Regions from separate parts of the Homo sapiens genome. Here regions 1, 2, 3, 5, 6 and 7 are each linked to region 4. The links are contacts of gene promoters, found by promoter capture Hi-C in blood cells and fetal thymus (Javierre and others, 2016). All regions are on one chromosome and are shown on one strand. Each heading gives the region's core, a stretch centred on a gene start or on the middle of the fragment in contact. The rest is flanking DNA. Distances are from core to core; before and after follow the strand shown.

Region 1 (3,174 bases), core at 225-2,724, 560 kb before region 4:
CGAGGTACGTGATGGCGGGCACTGAATTACAGATCCCGTCTGTGGCCGCCAGCCTCTGTGTCCTGCCACCTCCTCCGAGAGGACATCACCGCCACCAGGTGGAGCGAGTCTCCTCCTCGGCGCTCCAACCACGTGCTGTTTATTACTCTGTGGGGATTCCCATACCGAGGCCTCTTCAGTTCCTGGAACAGTAGCACTAAAAGGCTCCTGAGTGCCTCTGTTAATTTGATTGTTCTGGTTCGCACTACAATGACCGGGCTGGAGAGGGGGCGCTCGTAATGAAACAGGAACTGCTCCTCGCGCCCGCTCCAGAGTCCTTTACATCTTTGGGGAGAGGGCATACGGGGAGCTACATTTCATTTTCCTGAAGATTTTCCACGCGAAAGTGCTGGGGAGAGAGTTGGGCCTGGGAGGCTGCGCCTTCTTCCCGCGAATCCCGAAAACTGCGCGGCAAAGGCGGGTTCCGCAGAAGTCGCGCGTGACCCGGGGCGCCGCCCTCCTCGGGGCCCATTCGGATCTGCCGCCCGTCCTCTCCAGAGCGCCCCCTGGCGCCCTCTAGGCCATCTTGATTCCACCGCCGCAGTTGAAAGAATTAATAAATAAATCCTAGTCTCGCGTCTAGACCGGTCCGTGAGGGTCCCCTGCTCACCGGACACCCTGCCGCAATCTCTGCTGTCCCATTCTGGCCTCCCTACGGGGACGGGGGCCACCGTTTGCACATCAGCGGCGTTTGGGACAGCACTGTGCAAGATCTGTGACTCGGCTTTCAGAAGCTTCTGCCACAAGGCTTCAAAGGAAACCTTCAATTTTCACATTTCCTAGGGGGAAAAAAAATCTGAGATTTCTTCTTGTGGCTTGATGAACTTAGCTTTCGTCGCTGGAACAAAACCCGAGGAACAGCGTCTTCGCCACCCTTGCCACCTTACTGATGTTTCTCAGGGGGCACATGCCCATCGCAACCTTATGACCAATCCCATTTTTCAGATGCAGAAAGAGGCTCAGAGAGGTTAAGTGCTACTTGCTCAAGGCCACAGCAGGGAGTGGAGCTGGATTCGCTCCCAGGCAACTGACCCCAGCGTGCAGTCGATGCCTTCTCCTAGTCCCACTCACCGTGTAAGACCTGGTATTTACAAATTAGATTCTCGTTGTGCTTCTCCATTGGAAGGGCACTAGGGGAGCTCATTGTCTAAGACTGCCATCCCTAACTGCCTTTTAAAAAGAAATCTGGGCCGGGCGCAGTGGTTCATGCCTGTAATCCCAGCACTTTGGGAGGCCGAGGCAGGCAGATCACGAGGTCAAGAGATCGAGACCGTCCTGGCTAACACGGTGAAACCCCGTCTCTACTAAAAATACAAAAAATTAGCCGGGCGTGGTGGCGGGCGCCTGTAGTCCCAGCTACTTGGGAGGCTGAGGCAGGAGAATGGCTTGAACCCAGGAGGCTGAACTTGCAGTGAGCCGAGATCGCCCCACTGCACTCCAGCCTGGGCGACAGAGCGAGACTCTGTCTCAAAAAAAAAAAAAAAAAAAAAAATCTGACGTGACAAGGCCTTTAGTTTTTATAAGTGAGGTCTCCTCTCTTTGCCTAGATATTCCTCCGATAACATCAATGAAATTTTGCCCAGCACAGAGCAAGTACTAAATAATGATTTGGTGAATCTAATGTTGAGCCTGCAGTAATCCAACTAGAAACACCCACTCAGCCACTCGGGCATACCTTTTATTTGGGCAAGGGGCACTGCAGTTCTCTGGGCAGGGGTCAGCTAGGAGAGACCAATAGATGCCCCCACCCCAGGCTCCTAGACCCATCTCCAGGACCAAACAGCCAAAGCCCCTCTTCTTTTCTTCAAAATACACACATTTCTAGAAATTCTCTGCAAAATACATAGGCTACTAGATAAGCACCCAGTTTCCCTCTGGGGTCATTTGTTCCCGAATGAGGCTTATTAAAAGAGGAAACTATTTTTAAGCTAAATCATCAATCAAAAGTATTCTTCATTCTGGTATATGGCTGCTTTCCACAGATGATAAAATCCCGTCAACTTGATCCAAAGAAAAAATGACCTACATAACAATGACAGCATGAATAACAATTAATCCTCCATTGAAATGTTCAAAAGCTAGAATTGTGGTAAAGCCAAGATTCCCAGGGAGTGTCAGGAACTGCTCTCTTGATTCTAAGCTTGAAGCAGGTAAAGAAAAGGTTGTCTGGGACTAGGGCTTTCGGGGATAGGACCCAAATCCCAAGGCAAAGGGAGTCAGAAGCGAGTAAGAAAAGCAAACAGCTCCTACCTACCCAGTGCCAAAGAAACGCAGACACCAGTTCTGTGTCGGTTCTGCTTGAAAAGGTCTGAGAAGAATAATTTGGTAGATGAATCATTGAAGAATAATTTTGCAGACAGCTCCATCAAGCCAAATGCCCAGCGTGAGGGCTGTGTGTATAATACTGTCATAACCTTTGAAGATAGATTCTGTTCATCAACACGGCTGTTTACATAATCACTTGGTCACCTCACCAAATGGATTAATCTTTTTGGTCACATTCCTTATCAGTGCATGGAGAGGCTAATTGTTGGTGGCCCAATGTGTCCCATAAACGGATCCCATGAGAATAAGCTTGCAGCAACAGATGATGAAGGGAACTGAGATACAGACGAAAGCACAGCGGCCTGGGAGACAGGAGACGAGGCTCCGCCTGGACCTTGACGACGACCTTCCTTAAAACTATGGACTCGTCATCTGACCTCTCAAGGCCTCCATTTCCCCATCTGTAAAACCGAAAGCCCCTCAGCAATCTGGGGCTATCATCTGAAAAGTGTGGGCAGCTGCGGGCGCTCATACCTCAAGCCCCAAGAGTTTCTTCTTCTAACAGTAACATACTTTGCACATGACCCAGCAATCCCACTCCTGGGTATTTACCTGATAAATGAAAACCCATGTTTGCCGGGCATGGTGGCTCATGCATGTAATCCCAGCACTTTGGGAGGCCAAGGTGGGCGGATCACTTGAAGTCAAAAGTTCAAGACCAGCCTGGAAAACATGGTGAAACCCCATCTCTACTAAAACTACAAAAATTGGTGGGGTGTGGAGGCACATGCCTGTAGTTCCAGCTACTCGGGAAACTGAGGCAGAAGGATTGCTTGAACCCAGGAATTGGAGGTTACAAGTGAGCCAAGA
Region 2 (3,303 bases), core at 804-3,303, 700 kb before region 4:
GAGTGCCAGGACTACAGGTGCATGCCACCATGCCCAGCTAATTTTTCATTTTTTTTTTTTTGTACAGACAGGATCTCACTATGTTGCCCAGGCTAGTCTTGAACTCCTGGGCTCAAGCAATCCCTTGCCCCAGCCTCCCAAAGCACTGGGGTTACAGGCATGAGCCTCTGCGCCCAGCCTGAAAATCCTCTTTTGAAAAAGAAGTTGGTTCACCCTCATCTCATGCCCAAAAAGAAAAGAGAGATTGAGCCATGGACTTATGAATGTAACCTTGCTTCTTTCCTAGTTTAGCATGGAAGGCTAATGATTAAAACAACAACAGCAGCAAAACAACAGCAACGAAAACCACAGAGACGGTCTGGAGACGTATGATCCCTCCAAAGTCCCCAGCAGAGGTGGTGACTGGGATACTCTTACAGGTATCGACAAATGAACATACGTGGCCAAGACTCCTTTGCTGAGCTCAAAACCCTGGGTGTTTGCAGTGGCTGAGGACACCAGGCTTCCCTTCTGTGAGGGCCTAGCACCCTGGGAAGATAAGCAGGTAGATGAAAAAGCGGCCTGAGAGAAGCCGTGCAGGGGCTGGGAGACCTTAGCAGCTCTCCTTGGTGTGAACCTCAGAGGCCTCGGGCCAGGGACACCGAGGCAGATGCCCTTAGGGCCCCTTGTCACTTTCACACCTAGGGAGCCCAGGGTCCACAGCGTGAATGTGCCCATCACCATCTGATACCAACATTTGTTCTTCCTGTCCCATGACCAGCACTGCACTGCAAATTGCAGAGAGGGCCAGGGCATGGTCTCCCCGCCAGGCCACAACATGAGCATGTGGAGGAGAGCTCAGCACCTTTGCATGCCTCGGGGGACTCTAAGCTTCCACCAGGAAGAAGCCCCTTGGAAGTGCTGGACCTGGGGTCTGTTTGGGGACCTCCTACAGGGAAGCCGTCTCGGGCCAAGGCTCCTCGGCAGGTGCCAGCTCACCTTGGCGCAGGGGGGCATGGTGATGTTCAGGTGGCAGAGAATGTGCTGGGTGTCCTCGTACTTCATCGCCTTGCGCAGAAACGACAGGGACCCTCCCGGCTCTCGACTGCTGTCCCTCACCTAAACTCAATCACACAAAGGAGAATTCAGGGGCCCTTTTCTAGGCCACCCGGCTGTCTGGTTTAGGGAATTCTGCCTCCCCAACTTTCTAGACCCAGAGGAGAACTCAGCCAGAGGGTGCCGGCACCTTTACAGGCATGGCCAGACGGTTCTCCCGAAATGACTGGAAGTGGAAGCTCCGCTGCTGGGCAGCTTTCTTCACAGGCACCAGGTTCCCAGAGAGTTCTGCAAACAGGGACATTCCTTCCAACACCTGCAGGAGAGGAAAAGCAGATACAGCTTGTCAGGGAGAGAAGGGCCCAGATGTCCCTCCTTCCACCTTCGGTCCTTCCCTCTCCAAGACACACCCTGCCTCAGCAAGAGGCATGCGGGTGTGTGCTGAGAAATCCACTGTTTGTTTTGGGAAAGGCTTTATTTCCAAAATTGTGATCAATGAGGCATGCTTCCCGACTTCAACAGATTTTGTAATATGTAGGGATCTTCAAATATCCCTGAGATGTTGATGGGAATTGCTATCAAGTATTCCAAAACTTCACTTGAATATCATAACATAGCTTCTGAAAACAACAACAACAACAACAAACCCTGGTTCTGGGCTGGGCATGGTGGCTCACGCCTGTAATCCCTCCACTTTAGAAGGCCAAAGTGGGAAGATTGCTTAAGTTCAGGAGTTTGAGACCAGCCTGGGCAACATAGGAGATCCTCATCTTTACAAATTTTTTTAAAAAAACTAGCCAGGTGTGGTGGCATGTGCCTGTAGTCCCAGCTACTTGGGATGCTGAGGCAGGAGGATCACTGGAGGCCAGGAGTTTAAGGCTGCAGTGGGCTATGATGTCACAACTGCACTCCAGCCTGGGCAACAGACTGAGATCCTGTTTCTAAAAATAAAACCAAGGTTCTGTTTTTATGTCTGTCCAAAGATGCTTTGTTCATGACAAGAGCTGGAAAGCACTTGCTCTGTTTTAATCTCACTCATTGTTATGGGTGAGCTTTCAACTGAGAAGTTATCACTAACTCATTTGACAGTTGAAAAAATTGAGGCTGAAAGAGAAAAACCGGTTTGCCTCGTTAGTGCCTAAGACAGGATTAGAACCAAGGTTATAGTCCTGCACTTGTTCTCTGGGGCCCTCAGCCTTCCCCAGGAAAACTCAGTGCAGATTCTGAGGATTAGATCACTGCTGGCTTACTACACATCTTAACCCAAGTGGGTCTCTTAGGATCGGTAACTGGTTCAGACCTAGCCCCCATGCCTTCACTCTTCACATTATCTGTCGAGCCCTTTCCTCTGCCTCCTCACCTGGGTGCTACTGAAACCCTAGCACAGCAGGTTATAATGTAGACTCTGGGGCCAGAGATGACCTGGATAAATCCCATCTCCACCACTCACTTAGCTGTGTGACCATTGGCAAGTTACTTAACCTCTCAGCCTCAGTTTCTTAATACACAAATAAGGGATAATAAAGGTACCCATAAATATGAGAATTAAATGAGAATATGCAAGAAAAGCACTTTTAGTTATTTATTTAATAGAGATGGTGTCTCACTACGTTGTCCAGACTGGTCTCAAACTCCTGGGCTCAAAGCGATCCTCCTGCCTCAGCCTTCCAAAGTGTTGGGATTATAGGCGTGAGCCTCTGAGCCTGGCCAGCACTTTTATTTGTTTGTTTTTTGTTTTGTTTCCTGCCCCCACCACCATACTCAGCTGGCTAGCACTTTTTTTTTTTTTTTTAAACAGAGTCTTGCTCTGTCACCCAGGCTGGAGGGCAACAGTGCGATCTCGGCTCACTGCAACCTCTGCCTCCCGGGTTCAAGTGATTCTCCTATCTCAGCCACCCGAGTAGCTGGGATTACAGGCACGTGCCATCATGCCCGGCTAATTTTTGTATTTTTAGTAGAGACAGGGTTTCACCATGTTGGCCAGGCTGGTCTCGAACTCCTGACCTCAGGTGATCTGCCCGCCTTGGCCTTTCAAAGTGTTGAGATGAAAGGCGTGAGCCACTGCGCCCGGCATGGCCAGCACTTTTAATAGTCCCTGGTGCACAAGACCTTCGGCAAATGCCAACTCTTTTCATAGATCACTGGACCAAAAGCCTGCAGCCTCCTCTGAGATGTGCATGGTGGCATCTCTCTCCTTTCCTGAAGCTTCTCTAAGATGCTTCTCAAGAGGGGTCTCAAAGACAGACAGCTGTGGAGCCCCTCGTCTAC
Region 3 (3,357 bases), core at 817-3,316, 810 kb before region 4:
CTACTTCCAAGACTGGTTCTGGGGGCAGAAAAGGAGACCAGACGAAGGACTCCAAAGAGCAGTTGAGATCCTGGTGGCCACTTTAAATCCCTATCCCTAGCACTGTGGAGAACACAACACAAAAATGTATGATGTCTGGTTTCTTCTTCTTTTTTTTTTTTTTTTCTGAGATGGAGTCTCCCTCTGTCGCCCAGGCTGGAGTGTAGTGGTGCGATCTCAACTCACTGCAACCTCCGCCTCCTGGGTTCAAGCAAGTCTCCTGCCTCAGCCTCCCGAATAGCTGGGATTACAGGTGCGCACCACCACGCCCGGCTAATTTTTGTATTTTTAGTAGAGACGGAGAGACGGGGTTTCACCATGTTGGTCAGGCTGGTCTCGAATGCCTGACCTCGTGATTCCCCCGCCTCAGCCTCCCAAAGTGCTGGGATTACAGGGGTGAGCCACCGCGCCCGGTGGTTTCTTCTCTTATGGAATTTAATGTCGTTGACGATTAGACGTGGCCATGCATTACTCAATCTTGAATTGGGATCCCCAAAAAAGCTGGGCGAGTAACAAGGGCTCAATGAATGGATAAGTGATTGAGTTAATAAATACGTGATCAGTTCCAAATGGGTAACATTTAGTTATATTTGGTGGAGATAAGTAGTCCAGTGTTTTGGAGCTAAGTGGTTATTCTTTTTTTTTTTTTTTTTTTTGAGTTTGGGTCTCGCTCTGTCACACAGGCTGGAGTATAGTGCCACAATCTCAGTTCACTGCAACATCTGCCTCCTGGGTTCATGCAATTCTCCTGTCTCAGCCTCCCGAGTAGCTGGGATTACAGGTGCGTGCCATCACCCCCGGCTAAATTTTGTATTTTTAGTAGAGACGGGGTTTCACCATGTTGGCCAGGCTGGTCTCAAACTCCTGGCCTTAAGTGATCTGTCCGCCTCTGCCTCCCAAAGTGCTGGGATTACAGGCGTGAGCTACCCGCGCCCCGCTCCCCCCACCATTTTTTTTTAATTTTCAAAATTTTTGTAGAAGTGGGGGTCTCGTTACGTTGCCCCGGCTAGTCTCAAACTCCTGGCCTCAAGCGATCCTCCTGCTTTGGCCTCCCAAAACGCTGGGATTACTGGCGTGAACTACCATACTCTGCCCTTTATTCTTACAGAGATTTTGAGGTCTAAGAATGTGGACTTTAAAGATTTCATTATCAGATTATGCATTTAGCACGGAATGACAATCTGACAGCCGTGTACAGCGTAAACCGGCGGAGAGGGCTTGGCACTAAAGGCAAACTGTCTTTTAAGAACAGGAAAAAGAAAGGTAATATATATTTTAAGGAGGTCCCATTTTAGGGGAGATAATAAGCTTGGGTTAGGCGTCCGAAGTCAGAAGATATAGTAAGAAACACACACGCAAACTCCAGCAGCCACCAGCTAGACTTGAGTAGAGAGAGCAGGTCCAAGTGGAGGTGGAAGTTGGAAAGTTGCATCTGCCAGGCAGGGCGAAAGTGGCCTACACCCACTCCTGGAGCACCCTGCTTGACGAGCAAGGTAGACGAGGCTGAGGGATACTGCTGGTGATGACGGTGGTCGTGGTGATGGTGCTGGTAGCTAACAGATCTTGAGCGTACCAGGCCCTGAGCTGAGTCCTCTAACGGGCAGAATGTCGCTGCATACGGACAGCAGCCTCAAGAGGACAAGGTGATTTAGTGACTCTAGCCTCTTCCCGCGGTGCCAGCCTGATTTCACCCTCTCCGGAACACACAAGCGAACCTCCGGGGAGGGAGCCAGTATCGGGTCCTAACGCAGGGAAGCGCTCCGCTTTCTGAGAGGGACGCGCCAGCGGAGGGACAGCCAGGGCCCGGCCTCTCCTGCTCCTGCCCCGCCCCGCCCCCGGCAGTGCCCCCTAGTCCGCCAGAGGGCGACTCCGCGGGTCGCCCAACCCGCGACCGGTCCACGCGGCACCCGCCTCTCCCTAGGCCCCCGCCCTGCCGGCCCGCGCGCGCCCGACGGGAGCGTGCGGGGCGGTGGGCGCAGGGTCACGTTGGGCGGCGCAGACAAAGGCGGGCGCGCGCACGTCCTGACGCAGCTTGGGCCCGCGGCGGCGGCAAGGGCGGGAGGGAGCGGTCGCCGCGGGATTTGGAGCTGCCTAGCCTCGCGGTCGGTGAGTAGGAGGGAGCTGGCCCCTTACCTCAAAGTCTCCGACCTCCGGGGAGCCGAGAGCGGGACGTGGGAGCCGGGCTTGGGCGGCCGCGCGGGGCCTGCGGTCTGGGACGCCCCGGCGACGCTGCGCCGGCGTCAGGAGGCACCATCGCCGCGCCCCGGGGATCCCCGGCGGGTGGAGCGGGTGCCCCCCGTCCGGGATGGAACGGTCCGCGCCCGCCCCGAACCCCGGCCGCCCGCCTCTCCGCTCGCCTGCTCTCCGAGCCCGGCTCCTCGGAGCCCCTCGCCTCCCCCAAGTCCCAGGTGTGCGCAGCCCTCCCGCCCCGGGAGTCCGGGGATGTGGGTGGCGAGGGCTGCTGGGCGTTGGAGCACCAGGAAGCGCCTTCCCCTGTCATTCCCCTTCCTGTGTTCTCTGGCTGCCGTAAGATGCATGTCTTTACCCTCTCCTTCTCCAAATGCATGCTCCCATTTTTCTTTAGGATTTCTTAACTCCTGAAATCCCTTGCCTTTCCTTTTTTATTTCAGCACCCTCTGAGGCATCCTTCTCCCAGTGGGGCTTGTTTATTTCCTCGCTTTCCATGTCACAGAGGGCTGAAGTTTAGCTGTTCAGAAGTTGCAGAAAATAGCTTATAGGAGACATACGGTGTAGCACGATGGAAATAAGTTCCATCCTCTGCCAAGTATTACCATGGATCTTCTCATGGATAACCTTGAGGTCATTTGAGGAATTTTGTTTTTGGTTCATTTTCCTTAATTTTGGCTGAACTTTGAGGAGCTCTCCTTAGTTTCATGTCTTGTAGATTCTATCTCAATCCAAGGGAAATGGTGTGAAGAGCAGTTATACCATACCAAAGTCTCCAGACAAAATCCTGTAATAATGCCAATCAAATATACTTCTCTCTTTGAAAGAGATGTGCTTTTCTTTTCTTTTTTAACTTTGTATTTTGGAGAATTTCAGACACAGGGAAATAGATGGAATAGGGAACCAGCATGTACTTGTTCTGGCCTCCTCAGCCACTTAACTGTGGCTATTCCTGTGCCATACACACCCCACCCATTTCCCCTCCCGTATGTCTCAGGGAGAACTTGATGCAAGATGAGTCTGTCAAAAGTAGCTTCAGTTCCATAATGAAAACCACCATACCAAGTCATAAGGTGCTTTTTGTTTTGGAACACAGCCTACTCATGAGGTCTTCAGCTAAGAAACACAGTA
Region 4 (3,105 bases), core at 56-2,555:
GGATGGTCTCGATCTCCTGACCTCATGATCCGCCCGCCTCTGCCTCCCAAAGTGCTGGGATTACAGGCTGCTTCCTTTAACCTAGAGCAGTTCACTAGCCTTTTTCCTAATCTTTCATGAAACTGACATTTTTGAAGACTGGGCAGTTGTCTTGCAGGTCTCTCAGTTTGGATTTGCCTGATTGTTTCGTCCTGAAGAGAGGCAAATTACACACTTTTACAAGAATATTATCTCTGTGTCCCTCTCTGTGCCTCACACCAGGGGCATATGTCAGTCCCTACCATCCCCCGTTTGATCAGTCTCTTTGATGTGAAGGTACCCTTTTCTCTTTAGTGAGTAATCTATGGGGGTGATACTTTGAAACCATATGAACATCCTCAACGGTCCACTGATCATTTCAGCCTGAATCAATTATTATCATGGTGGTTCCAAGACGATGATTTTCTATTTCTGTCATCTATTCTACCTTTATTAGTTGGTCTTCTCCTCTACAGAAGAGCTTTTTCTCCTCCACATCCTCTGCCCCTTTGAATTATCATCTCTCACTACTTGTGGGATCTTGAATCAATCACTTACTCCCTGGGGACCTGTGTATTCTCATCCTTAAGACGAGATGACCTAAGAGTGACACTCTTGAAGTCTGGTCAGTCTGAAATGAAATTCCCATAAGAGGCTGGGCGTGGGCTCAGGCCTGTGATCCCAGCACTCTGGTAGGCGCAGGCGGGCGGATCACTTATGCCGTGGAGTTCGAGACCAGCCTGGAAACATAGGGAGATTCCCGTCTTTACCAAAAAAAAAAAAAAAAAAAAATTAAATTAGCCGGGCGTGGTGGCGCGCTTCTGTGGACCCTCCTACTCAGGAGGCTTAGGCAGGAGGACGGCTTGAGCCCAGGAGGTCGAGGCTCCAGTGAGCCAAGATCGCGCCACTACACTCCGGCCTGCGGCATGCCTCAAACCTGGGGTCCGGCACCCTGCGGCCTTTTCGCGGCCGCACCCATGGCAACAGTTAACTAGCAACCTCGCGCATTCTCGCGAGAATGAGTCCCCTCAAGGGCACAGGTGCGGTCCCCAGCCTCTTGGGCCCCCAGTCAACCTCACTGTCCACACCGAGCCCTCCTGCGCACGCGCGCTGCGGAGCCGGACAGTTGGTGGTGCTGGCTTGGCCCGGCTGTTCGTCTCCGCGCCTTGCTCCGAAGCGCGCGACCGTGGCGCGACACGCCGGCGCACAGGCGCTCTCGGGGAGGGGCGGCGCGCAGGCGCGGCTGGGGGTGCGAGGCTGCGCAGGCGCGGACGGCGTTGGTTTGAAGACCTTCAGCGTTGCCCTGGCGGAGCAGAGACAGGCCCTCGGGGTGGAGGTGAGGAGAGCTGAGGCCGCGCGGGCTCCAGTCCCGGAGAGCGGTGGGCCGCGGCCGAGCAGAGCGCCAGGCGGGAGGCGGGCCTAACGGAGGCTCTGTGGGCAGGGAGCAGGCTACCGGGGCGCGGGGGGCCGGGGCCGCTCGCTCCCGCCGGGACCCGCCCGGGCCACCTCAGGCGATGGAGCCGCAGCACGGCGGGGCAAGTGGCCTCCGGGCGCGGGCAGCGACCTATCCCGCCGGCGTGTGGACCGCACTTTCCTCCCAGGGGTCAGCTAGAAAGGAGATCGGTTCTAGGGAAGTTGGATCCTCGAACCCCACACCCATCTCCCGCCCGCCCCTGCCCCCTCCTTACGGCCGAGGGAGGGTGCCCTGCGTGCAATTCAAAACGGAGAAGCGAGGAACGAAAAGGGCTCTGTACTGGCTGTCAAGTTAGTGGCTTTGTAAAGCAGTAGCAACCGGCTTAACGCCTTTCCCCGTCTGCGTCTCCTGCAGCCTCTGTGCAGTGTGCACATCTATGGGCAGGTGCATTCTGTAGAGCTGGTGGAGACGTGTGGTTGTAGCTTTACTCTCGAGGAACATGAAGTTTCTGTTGTTCTCGATTTTTGCTTGATCATACTAGCAGTGCATTTCCCATCAGAGTCATAGGCCTGAAAAAGTCAGCTTGAACTAGGCAGAATTGAGGTCAGTTAGTATACTAAACCAGCTACGTGACTTTTGCATAGTATCTCGTACTGGTTTTGAAAAATAACAAAACAAAATGCTGAAATATTGTAAATAGTCCCTAGACGTATATATAGTGCTTCTAAACATTTAAGTGTATCTTTTCTCGGCAGTATGAAAAACCAGACTGTAAAGCTTTAACATTTCTATTTCAATATATACTGCCTGCATTTCTATACTTACTTCCCAAATTACAGACTTCTGGCAAAATTTCAACAAATATCAACATCAGTTGTAATCATAAAGAGTAATATCAAATTGCAATTGGGATAATATAAAAAGCCTAGAATTGATCACTTTAGTACAAGGGATTGAATTGTAAAATAATCGTTCTGTAAGTGAATTATGAAACCTGGTAGCTTAGAGCAAAGTTTTACTATGGAATGAGTCAGTACATTTATACTACCGTTTCCTCTTTAATTTTTTTTTCTTTTTAGTTTTTTATACTAGTCTCTTTATATCATAGTGTCTGTCATATTTGACAGGTTTATGTTAAGGAACAAAACTTAAATGCATTCCCATTTAAGTGCATCATATGTATATGTTTGGTATGATGGGGTAGGCAGAAGCTTAGCAGAAGTCTGGATTAAGAGCTGGGCTATATATAAATAAATATGAGCTTAAATGTGTAGATCATTCAGGCGTAGCAATTGCAAGGGCTAGCTGGTACTCTGGATTTTTCTGACATATGGGCTAATGGCACTGCTAGAGGTGGCTCTGTAATTGGTTAGACATAGCTTTTGAGTCTGCGAGAGGAATACAGAAGAACCTGCTGCAGAAAGATTTCCCATGATACAAAGAGGGCAAAGGAATGAGATAATCAGCAGTGTTGATAGCTCTGAGAATTTGATATGAGGGTCATATTACCAGTAGCAAAGCTGGGCAGATTTTTAGTAGGCAAGATGAAAAATCAAGGCACCTGAGGTTTTTGAAGGCTTTAACTTCAGAGTTTACACTAACTTTTGGTAAGCAGGTTGCTGCAGGTAGAATCTGTCATATTTCTGGTTAATGGGTAAAATTATAGCACTTTA
Region 5 (3,219 bases), core at 689-3,188, 860 kb before region 4:
ACAGAGTGAGGCCCTGTCTCTAAATAAATAAATAGAAGGTGAGAACATAGACCCCACCTCTTGATGGAGGAGTGTCAATGTCACATGGTAAGAAGGGTATGTGGGGTGAGATCCATATTAGAGCAGCTATGTTTGGGAAACACACTCTGCCACAACCAAAAACCACTGGATTACCAAACCGTTGAAACAGACCTTGAAATAACCACCTATTTGCCACTCACAAAATTCATTTCATAAGACACAGCTCAAATGTCCCTTCCTTTTGGGAATCCCGTGCTGATATGCCCCAGCTTACACAGCGCTTTGTAAAGATGCCTACTCTCTCACTCGGCTTATTCTATTGTCATTTTCATAACAGGATTGTAATCAGGCAGGTACGATCATACTATATTAGCCAATCATTTTACTAGTCAATCAATATGACATCATAGGGCAGCTTTGCAAAGAGCCCTCAGATTGATGGAGAAGAGATACTTTTAGGGAAGCCAGAAGCAACGCTTTGCACAGAAAACAAAGGACAGCAAAGAGAAAAGAATCAGCAACTCAGAGAAGAAAAACTGGATCACACAAAGATGGAAAAAATATATACATATACAGACATGGGTTTTTGTGCTTTTCCCCTCCAGAAGGTGAGTTGAAAGCATTGCCCCAAAGCAGTGATTCTCTTTTCTTTTTTCTTTTTTTTTCTTTTTTTTGAGATGGAGTCTGGCTCTGTCTCCCAGGCTGGAGTGCAGTGACGCCATCTTGGCTCACTGCAGGCTCCGCCTCCCGGGTTCACGCCATTCTCCCGCCTCAGCCTCCCGAGTAGCTGGGACTACAGGCGCCCGCCACCACGCCCGGCTAATTTTTTTGTATTTTTAGTAGAGACGGGGTTTCACCATGTTAGCCAGGATGGTCTCGATCTCCTGACCTCGTGATCCGCCCACCTCGGCCTCCCAAAGTGCTGGGATTACAGGCGTGAGCCACCGCGCCCGGCCCCAAAGCAGTGATTCTCAAACCTCAGCTGTGTCAGGGTCACCGGGAGGGCCTGGGTCTGGTGAAATACCCCCAGTTTCTGATTCGGTGGGCCAGGGTGGGGCCTGAGAACCTGCATTTTCACGGATTCCCAGGCGATGCTTCTGCTGGTCGTCCGATCCCAGGCTTCAAGAACCAGTACCCACTTTGTGAGGCCGAGGTGGGAGGATTGCTTGGATCCTTGAGTTCGAGACCAGCCTGGCCATCATAGGGAGAACCTCCCCACCCCCAACCCCGCCACAGTTCTTTTTTTTTTTTTTTTTAATTAAAAAATAACTGGGCGTGGTGGCGCTGGCCTGTGGTCCCAGCTACTCCGGAGGCTGAGGTGGGAGGATCGCTGGAGCCCGGGAGGCGGAGGTTGCAGTGAGCTGTGGTGGTGCCACTGCACTCCAGCCTGGGCACCAGAACGAGACCCTGTCTCAAGAAAGATGAAAAGGAATATACTGGAGATTCTGAAGGCAATGACCACACTGACCACAGGTGAAACCCCGCAAAGACGGAGGAACCCAAAGAGCCACGAGAGCTGTGGGTGGAGACGGCCCAGGAGGCTGCAGCGGCCTGCTTTCAACAGCATACTTCTGGGTGGGACCCCCCGGGGCGGACACCGCCGCTCCCCTTGGCCGCGGTGGCGGGCGCCCCCTCCCGACGCTCTTGGGTAGTGCAACCCGGACCGCACAGCGGAGCGGCCGGCCCCCAGGTGGGCGGGGCCAACCCGGACCAGCCTCCCGCCGCCTCAAGTCCTTGGGTTGCTGGGACTGCAGGCCGCCGCGAAGACAGTCCCCGCCCGCCGGGTGGGCGGGCCCAAGGAGACCGCCCCGCTCTTCCCCCCGGGCCTTGATTGGTCAGCGTCGCCCTTGCGCGATGACGTCGTGCCTGGGCGGAAACTTTGCGAGAGTAGCGCGGGAGCTGAGAAGTTGCAGGGTTGAGTTGGTCCCGGCAAGTCCTTGAGCAGTTTGTTCCTCTGTCTTCCCGCTTCCTGGTGCCCCGACTGCGTCCCCACGAACGCCCCGTCCTTACCGCCGGCTGCTGTGGAGTGCCTCGCTGTCTCCCAGGTCCCCGAGTGAGCGTCGAATGGGACCTCTGTGGCTAGGGCAGGCCTGTGTGGGTGGCACTGAGAGGGAGGAGGGGAGGGGGATGTTCGCAGTTTCCTTGCGACCCCAGGGACTTTCTTTGTCCCCGCCATCCACCTCCTTAGGCCTTTGGGATCGCCGACTGGTCTAATGTCGCCGGCCCTTGTGGCTCTGGGAAATTAGCATTGATTAATCTTCCTAACAATTTTTGTTTTTATAGAGACAGGATCTCCCTATGTTGCCCAGGCTGGTCTCGAACTCCTGGGCTCAAGGTATCTTCCTGCCTCGGCTTCCCAAAGTGCTGGGATTACAGGCGTGAGCCCGGCCAGCTCCTAATAATGTTAAGTGCTTGCTAGGAGTCAAGCGCTGTGCTGAGCGCAGGGGCTTCCCACGTCATTGCGTCCCCAGTGCTTAGTGCCAGGCACTGAGCAGAGGCGCGATTCGTATTTGAACTAAAACGAACCCCGTCCCTGAGGAACAAGACCTCTACTGGGAAGTCAAAGAAATGAATAGTGATTGTATGGTGTGATGGGTGCTCAGCTCTTGGTGGACAGAAGTAAGGGGGAGGCTTGTTTGAGAAACGGATACCTGACCTAAGCCTTGGAGGAAGAGGCAGACACTGGAAAACTAGAGTCCCTGCGTTCTCTCACCACTTGCTAAAGGGCCTCTACAACCCCAGGAAACCTCAATAAACCTTTCCTTTCTCCAGATAGATGTCTGTTCTTGCAGATAATTAGAAAACGCATTGCAGAGTATTGGTTCTTTCCCTCTCATTAGGTTCCTGGTTTCAGAGAAGATGACCGAAGAAGTGGATTTCCTGGGACAGGACTCTGATGGGGGTAGTGAGGAAGTGGTCCTAACTCCTGCAGAGCTCATTGAAAGATTGGAGCAGGTAAGCATCCCAGATCGAATCCCTTTGCTCCAGTCAGCCTTTTTATTTAGTTCAACTGTGAATATCAGGGATCACAAGATGAGGAAACGGAATTTGGGGCTTACTTTAGAACAGGGACTGGATCTTACCATCTACATGGAAACGGGAAGCAAGAAGGACATCCTCTGTTAGAGACCTCATCATATCAAACACAGCATCCCCAAGTGGGGTCAGTAAGGGACAGCTTTGGGCACATTCAGTGAA
Region 6 (3,346 bases), core at 82-2,581, 840 kb before region 4:
GCTTTGATACCAGACTCCTTTGCTGAAGGCCACATCACTTCTAAGTAGAGATGTGATCAAACCCCAGTGAGGCCAGGGCACCTGAGTCCATCCTTTTCATCTTACTGTAATCTTTCTTTCCACAAAAGAAAAGAAGATCCAAAAATGTTTTCAGCAACAATAGCTTCACTGGAATAAGTTCTCATATTCGAAAAAGACTCATTTGAGGGAATAACCACTGCCATTCACATTGCTTTAGAGGAGGTGGCATTTTTCTCAACATAGCTTTCTGTTTTAACCAGGTCATATTCTATGTAACACAATGCTGACAAATTCTGCCTAGCTTGTTAAGACAAAACCACTCGAAGTAAAGTCAGCACACAATTAACCTAAGTCTTGCTTCTTGTTCAGTTCTATTAGTTTCTATGGAAATAAGAATAAAAGTAAATGACTATTTTTGCTTCTAAGGAATTTACAATTAATCCTGAGAAGATGTCTTAAGTGTAAACCTAAAAGTATGGGATTTTTTGGCTCAAAAAAAAAATTTTCCTAACGGCCAGGCCTAGGGTTAAGAGGAAGTTATTTTCTTGGGTTCAGAGATTTGCATATGAATGTTTTAAGCCTCTTAAAGTGACTTAAAACAACCTGGGACCCAAAGTTGTTGCCAGCTCAAATGTAAATGTTTTTAAACTTCAAATTGCTGCTTCTGTTATCACTGAACCTATTAATTTTCCTTAAACAGAATTCTGACCATTTCATTGCCTCTTAAAAAGCTTCAGTGGGCCAGGCACAGTGGCTCACAGCTGTAATCTCAGCACTTTGGGAGGCAGAGGCGGAGGATTACCTGAGGTCAGGAGTTCAAGACCAGCCAAGCCAATATGGTAAAACCCCATCTCTACTAAAAATATGAAAATTAGCTAGGCATGGTGTCAGGTGACTGTAATCCCAGCTACTTGGGAGGCTGAGGCAGGAGAATCACTTGAACCCGGGAGGCGGAGGTTTCAGTGAGCCGAGATCTCGCCATTGCACTCCAGCCTGGGCAAAAAGAGTGAAACTCCATCTGAAAAAAAAAGCTTCATTGGTTACTCATTGCCTACAGAAAAGGAAACAGTAAAGGAGATTAATATTTATCTGTGTCTTGGACAATAGGCAAATTGCTTTCCATGAATTATCTTATTTAATCCTCATAAGGACCCTATGAGATAAGCGCCAGCTCACCACGGTACCCCAGCTTCCTGGTCAAATTGTCCTCTTTCCCTAAATAGTTTATGACCTCTTTTTTAATATCTACAGTTTTACTATTTTATTAAAATCCCACCAAATTCTTTGGGGAATTAAGTAAGGTGTACAAGTTTTCATATGAGAAACACTGGAGTGATTTGGGCACACATAGCTTTCTGGTCGGCCTGCAATCTCACTTCCAGAATAGGTCATGAAAATAACAGTGAGAAATGGCCTCTCCCACACCCAGCTTCACGTGTTAAAGCGTGTGCTGTCCACTCCCACTTCTGTTTGCAGACGTGGCTGCCCTCAACCTCCGGACAAGTGATTTGGTCCTCAATCCAGGTGAGACTGTAGCAGGCCTCCTTTGTTTGTGTAGAAGATCATCAACTTTGCCATCTTCTGGCATCTGAAGCTTTCTGATCTCCAGTCAACAACATAACGTGTACCCTTTGGGTCCTCTTTAGTGAGCTCATGGGTAGGCTGCTGCCCACACTCTTGTCAACAGTTTAACAACTAACACGAGAGAGCCGAAGGGCTGTTTCTTCAGTCCATTTCTCTTGGTTCTCCAACTTTTTTTTTGAGACGGAGTCTCACTTTGTCGCCCAGGCTAGGGTGCAGTGGCGTGATCTTGGCTCACGGCAACATTTGCCTCCTGGAGTCCAAGCGATTCTCCTGACTCAGCCTCCAGAGTAGCTGGGACTACAGGCGCATACCACGGCGCCCAGCTAATTTTTGTATTTTTTGTAGATATGGATGGTGTCTCACCATGATGCCCACACTGATCTCGAACTTCTGAGCTCTGGCAATCCACCCACCTCAGCCTCCCAAAGTGCTAGGATTATAGGCATGAGCCACCACTCCCAGCCATCCAACTTTTACTTCTGTATCAAACTGGATCCCATTAGTCAGTATTTCTGGATGAATGTTTTAGTTCTTTGCTTTTAGCAAAGAGACAGCCATGTGAAAAACATTTCCATGTTTTCTGAAAATTAGAACTGAAGGCATTATCTATTACATATCCATTGTTTCTATATAAGAATCCCTGTAATAAATTTTTCTCAGAATTCAGTGCAAGTAAAAGTTTATATTTTCAAACTTTATGGTTCATTTTATCAGACAAATGAGTCCTATCTGTTCCCCTTCCCGGCCTTCCTACCAGGAACTCAGAGCCACTTTGTGTGCCCCTGCCTCCCTCTGAGCTTCCTTGTGTCTTTCCTTAAATAGTTTCCGATCTCCTTATGATACCTACAGTTTCAATCTTCTATTTTGCCTTAATTTTAAAAGCTACCCCAAATTTGGGGAAGAATTACATAAAAGATATATAAGTACATATTAGTAACTTGGATATATATTAGTTCCCACTTTTTAAAACATGTATGGGAATGAGTGATTTATAAGCCATTTGACAGCATATGAATTCCTAAGTAGGAAAATTCATAAGCAAAAGTGGTAATGAAGGCAGGAGGTGTAGTGTCCTCTCACTCCAGCACTTGTTTAAAAAGAGTGGCCAGGTGAGGTAAGTGACCTAGTAACAACAGCAGGTGCCAGGTATAACTCCATTCACTTTAGTCAACAAACAGGTAGGCTGGCTGGGTGCGGTGCCTCACGCCTGTAATCCCAGCACTTTGAGAGGCCGAGGCAGGCAGATCACTTGAGATCAGGAGTTCAAGACCAGCCTGACCAACATGGTGAAACCCCCATCTCTACTAAAAATACAAAAAAAAAATTAGCCGGGCATGGTGGCGGGTGCCTGTAATTCCAGCTACTCGGGAGGCTGAGGCAGGAGAATTGCTTGAACCCAGGAGGTGAAGGTTGCAGGTGAGCCGAGATGATGCCACTGCACTCCAGCCTGGATGACAGAGTGAGACTGCATCTCAAAAAAAAAAAAAAAAAGGTGGGGTTAGACATTGTGGTATGTGCTGCACATTCAGAGAAGAAAGCCCCTGTCTTAAAGCAGCTTACAGTCTAGCGAGGGAGACCAACAAAAACCAAATCACAGCATACTATGCTTGTATAAAGGTAGGAATGGGCAGGGCACAGTGGCACACTTCTGTAATCCCAGCACTTTGGGGGGCCAAGATGGAAAGATTGTTTGAGCCCAGGAGTTCTAGATCAGCCTAGGCAATACAGCAAAACCTCACCT
Region 7 (2,700 bases), core at 201-2,700, 680 kb before region 4:
TTTTGGCCATGTCTCTATATGACTAACATTTAAATGAATGGGCATGGCTGTGTTTCAATAAAACTTTATTTACACAAACAAGTGGTGGACCAGATTTGGCCCACGGGCCCATAGTTTGCTGACTTCTGATCTAGATGAACTTTATGGCACTTTCCCATCGTTGGTGCTTTATGGACTTCCCAGTAAAGAATGCCCCATTTCCATGGTGAATTTCAGAGCCCTGTAGCCTTGGTTTCCTAATCTAGACAATAGGGGTTATCATGGATCCATCTCAGGGGCAAGGTGAGGAGCGCTGGAGAAAGCACAGGTGAAGCACATTGAGAGGCACACAGTGCTGTTTAAATGGCTGGGCGCGGCGGCTCATGCCTGTCATCCCAGCACTTTGGAAGGCCGAGGCAGGTGGATCACCTGAGGTCAGGAGTTCGAGACCAGCCTGGCCAACATGGTGAGACCTCCATCTTTACTAAAAATACAAAAATAAGCAGGGCGTGGTGGCTCATGCCTGTAATCCCAGCTACTTGGGTGGCTGAGGCAGGAGAATCACTTGAACCTGGGAGGCAGAGGTTGCAGTGAGCCAAGATTGCACTACTGCACTTCAGCCTAGGTGACAGAGCAAGACTCCATCTTAAATAAATAAATAAATAATGTACCATACTGTTATCACTGCACAGCCAGTGCTGGCACGGTCAAGAGGGCAGAGCATCCCGCCAGGATTGAACGGACCATATTCTTGCAGGTGGCATCACAGCTTCGTCAGGAAGGCAGTAAGGTATCAGAGATGTTGTTTGATATGTGGGCACCCACATGAAAATGTCAGAAAAGTCTTCTCTCCCCTGGACTTTGCCTCAATACACTTTGCTAGCGTGGGACCAACAAAACGGATTTCTCTGCAGGCACAGACCGTGTCCCCTCTACAGGACTCCACTTGCCCTCCTCTGCCTTCTGCACACCCCGCAGGCTGCCCAGAGGCTTGTGGGCAGTCATGATGCCCCACCACACACTGCTGCAGCCAAAGCAGGTGGGCCCCTCCTGCAGGCAGGCGGGGGTGGCTCCAATGAGAACAGCCCTCGGTTGAGGAGTGACTGTGTCAGCCTCTCAGGCGGGCGCTCTGCCTCATTCTTGAGCTAACACCAATAATCTGCCTCGTGAGGGCGGCGTGCGGATGACAGAGTGGGTTTCCAGTCACCTTACGGTCTCCTTGCAAAGCTCACATTAAGTGGGGCAGTGAAGGAACCCAGAATGCCATGAGATATAATGAATATAATGGTCCTACCAGAATGGTTCGCTCATTGGGGGTCAATTGTTCAAATTTGTAAAAAATGTGCCAGATTTTGTACAAAATGTGCCAGATTTTGTACAAAATCTATAGGTTTTTAAGAAATCTTAAGTTGCCCTGAAAATGCTTGCCTTTCTGAATGTGTGCTATGTGAATTTATCATCAAAGAAGTGGTTCTTCACATTGCATGGTTCCACGTATATGAAATGTCCAGAACAGGCAAATTCCTAGAGACTGAAAGATTTGCAGTTGTGAGGGACCGGGGGCTCTGGGGGAAATGAGAAGTGACTGCTAACGGGTACGAGGTTTCCTTTCGGAGTGATGAAAGTGTTCTAGAGTTAGATCATAGGCTGCTGAATTCTGTAAAAATACTAAAAAACATTGAATTGTAGAGTTTGAAAGGGTGACTTCTAGGTGAATTATATTTCGATAAAACTGTTATTTAAAAAAGAAGTGATTTTTAGTCTTTTTTTTTGGGTCACACATTCCTTTGAGAAGCTGAGAAACATTATGAATGCTTCACCCAGAAAACTGCTCACGCGCGCTTCCTCCCCAGATGTGTGCGCAATTTTAGAAGGCTTTATCCTCACACACCTATTGTTGCTGGAGTGAGAACTCCTAGTGTATAGGTCAGTGTTTTTAAAAATATCTTTCCCCCACGGAACATAGAATATTTAGTCCCAAATGACAGAATGCACTCCTGAAGGTAGGCACCGGCCTATATTTGGGAAAGTTTATTATGGATTTTAATATTGATCTTTCTGCAGATCCTTAGGTCAATCTGTTTAGAAAGATCGGCAAAGGCTTTGGCATCAGAAAGGCTCAGAATCCTGCCACCTTGGGAATAAGCAACCTTTCTGACTCTGTTTATTCATTTATAAAATGAAGGTGAAATGTACGCAGGGCTGTTCCAAGGATTACACACACACACCCCTAACTCAGAACCTGGGCACACATAGATGCTCAATATGAAGACACCACACGTTGTTATCCAGCACTCCAGGGCAGATCCGAAGACACCATGCCTACCTTGTTCCCCAGGTTGCCATTGGCTTGTTTCGAGAGCAGCAGAGCCACCATCTCTGCGTGGCCCTCCTGGGCGGCCAGGTGAAGGGGCGTCACACCTTGCACCGACTCGGCGTTTGCTGAGCCCCCATACTGCAGCAGACTACGGGCCACCTCCACCTGGTTCTGCTTGGCAGCGATGTGCAAAGGGGTGTAGCCATTCTGAAACAGAAGAAGCCGCCCAGAGCCTGGTTACAGGAATGCTGAGCTGACAATATCAACACACAAGCAGGGGCTGAGTCTGGTTCTTGGCCGGCTGGACACCCAGTGAGCAGGGCTGGCATCACCCAGGAGCAATTTAGGTAAACAAACAAACAAACAAAATCCATTTGATTTGGAGACAGCTCCTCAGGCTTGCA

The links. Contacts are between HindIII fragments. The CHiCAGO score rates a contact against its expected background, and 5 or more counts as called.
Region 1: a contact is called between a fragment that was not itself captured here and the fragment with the promoter of VDAC3 in region 4, in 6 of 17 cell types (activated CD4 T cells, naive B cells, non-activated CD4 T cells and 3 more). The highest score is 8.4, in activated CD4 T cells.
Region 2: a contact is called between a fragment that was not itself captured here and the fragment with the promoter of VDAC3 in region 4, in 1 of 17 cell types (activated CD4 T cells). The highest score is 5.6, in activated CD4 T cells.
Region 3: the fragment with the promoter of GPAT4 here is called in contact with the fragment with the promoter of VDAC3 in region 4 in 2 of 17 cell types (naive B cells and fetal thymus); the score reaches 8.9 in naive B cells.
Region 5: the fragment with the promoter of GINS4 here is called in contact with the fragment with the promoter of VDAC3 in region 4 in 1 of 17 cell types (naive B cells); the score reaches 5.6 in naive B cells.
Region 6: a contact is called between a fragment that was not itself captured here and the fragment with the promoter of VDAC3 in region 4, in 1 of 17 cell types (naive B cells). The highest score is 7.4, in naive B cells.
Region 7: a contact is called between a fragment that was not itself captured here and the fragment with the promoter of VDAC3 in region 4, in 7 of 17 cell types (non-activated CD4 T cells, naive CD8 T cells, total CD4 T cells and 4 more). The highest score is 15.8, in non-activated CD4 T cells.

The regions. Positions count from the first base shown.
Region 1 is chr8:41,828,428-41,831,601 of GRCh38, forward strand. It overlaps a transcript of ANK1 not described here. Among named protein-coding and RNA genes, the nearest start is that of ANK1, 32 kb to the left of the region's middle. RefSeq lists enhancers at 1-112, 1-458. The HindIII fragment of the contact is 1,406 bases long and covers 772-2,177 here.
Region 2 is chr8:41,689,249-41,692,551 of GRCh38, forward strand. ANK1 (ankyrin 1) reads right to left here. Exons shown (of 43, transcript NM_000037.4): 32 at 1,226-1,351; 33 at 979-1,098. Among named protein-coding and RNA genes, the nearest start is that of MIR486-1, 30 kb to the left of the region's middle. The HindIII fragment of the contact is 2,370 bases long and covers 869-3,238 here.
Region 3 is chr8:41,576,134-41,579,490 of GRCh38, forward strand. GPAT4 (glycerol-3-phosphate acyltransferase 4) reads left to right here and starts at 2,067. Exons shown (of 13, transcript NM_178819.4): 1 at 2,067-2,145. It overlaps GPAT4-AS1 (GPAT4 and GINS4 antisense RNA 1), which reads right to left and starts at 2,235. Exons shown (of 3, transcript NR_125824.1): 1 at 2,173-2,235. RefSeq lists silencers at 1,794-2,413, 2,434-2,573. The HindIII fragment of the contact is 4,489 bases long and covers 1,346-3,357 here.
Region 4 is chr8:42,390,575-42,393,679 of GRCh38, forward strand. It overlaps VDAC3 (voltage dependent anion channel 3), which reads left to right and starts at 1,306. Exons shown (of 10, transcript NM_005662.7): 1 at 1,306-1,354. It also overlaps a transcript of DKK4 not described here. RefSeq lists enhancers at 810-1,310, 1,311-1,811 and a silencer at 1,053-1,582. The HindIII fragment of the contact is 9,991 bases long and covers 1-2,207 here.
Region 5 is chr8:41,527,323-41,530,541 of GRCh38, forward strand. It overlaps GINS4 (GINS complex subunit 4), which reads left to right and starts at 1,939. Exons shown (of 8, transcript NM_032336.3): 1 at 1,939-2,074; 2 at 2,862-2,976. The coding sequence starts at 2,881. RefSeq lists a silencer at 1,485-1,914. The HindIII fragment of the contact is 13,395 bases long and covers 1-3,219 here.
Region 6 is chr8:41,547,611-41,550,956 of GRCh38, forward strand. The region is part of intron 1 of GPAT4-AS1 (GPAT4 and GINS4 antisense RNA 1); the gene reads right to left. Among named protein-coding and RNA genes, the nearest start is that of GINS4, 20 kb to the left of the region's middle. The HindIII fragment of the contact is 563 bases long and covers 1,051-1,613 here.
Region 7 is chr8:41,706,473-41,709,172 of GRCh38, forward strand. It overlaps ANK1 (ankyrin 1), which reads right to left. Exons shown (of 43, transcript NM_000037.4): 17 at 2,306-2,503. Among named protein-coding and RNA genes, the nearest start is that of MIR486-1, 47 kb to the left of the region's middle. The HindIII fragment of the contact is 4,197 bases long and covers 1-2,700 here.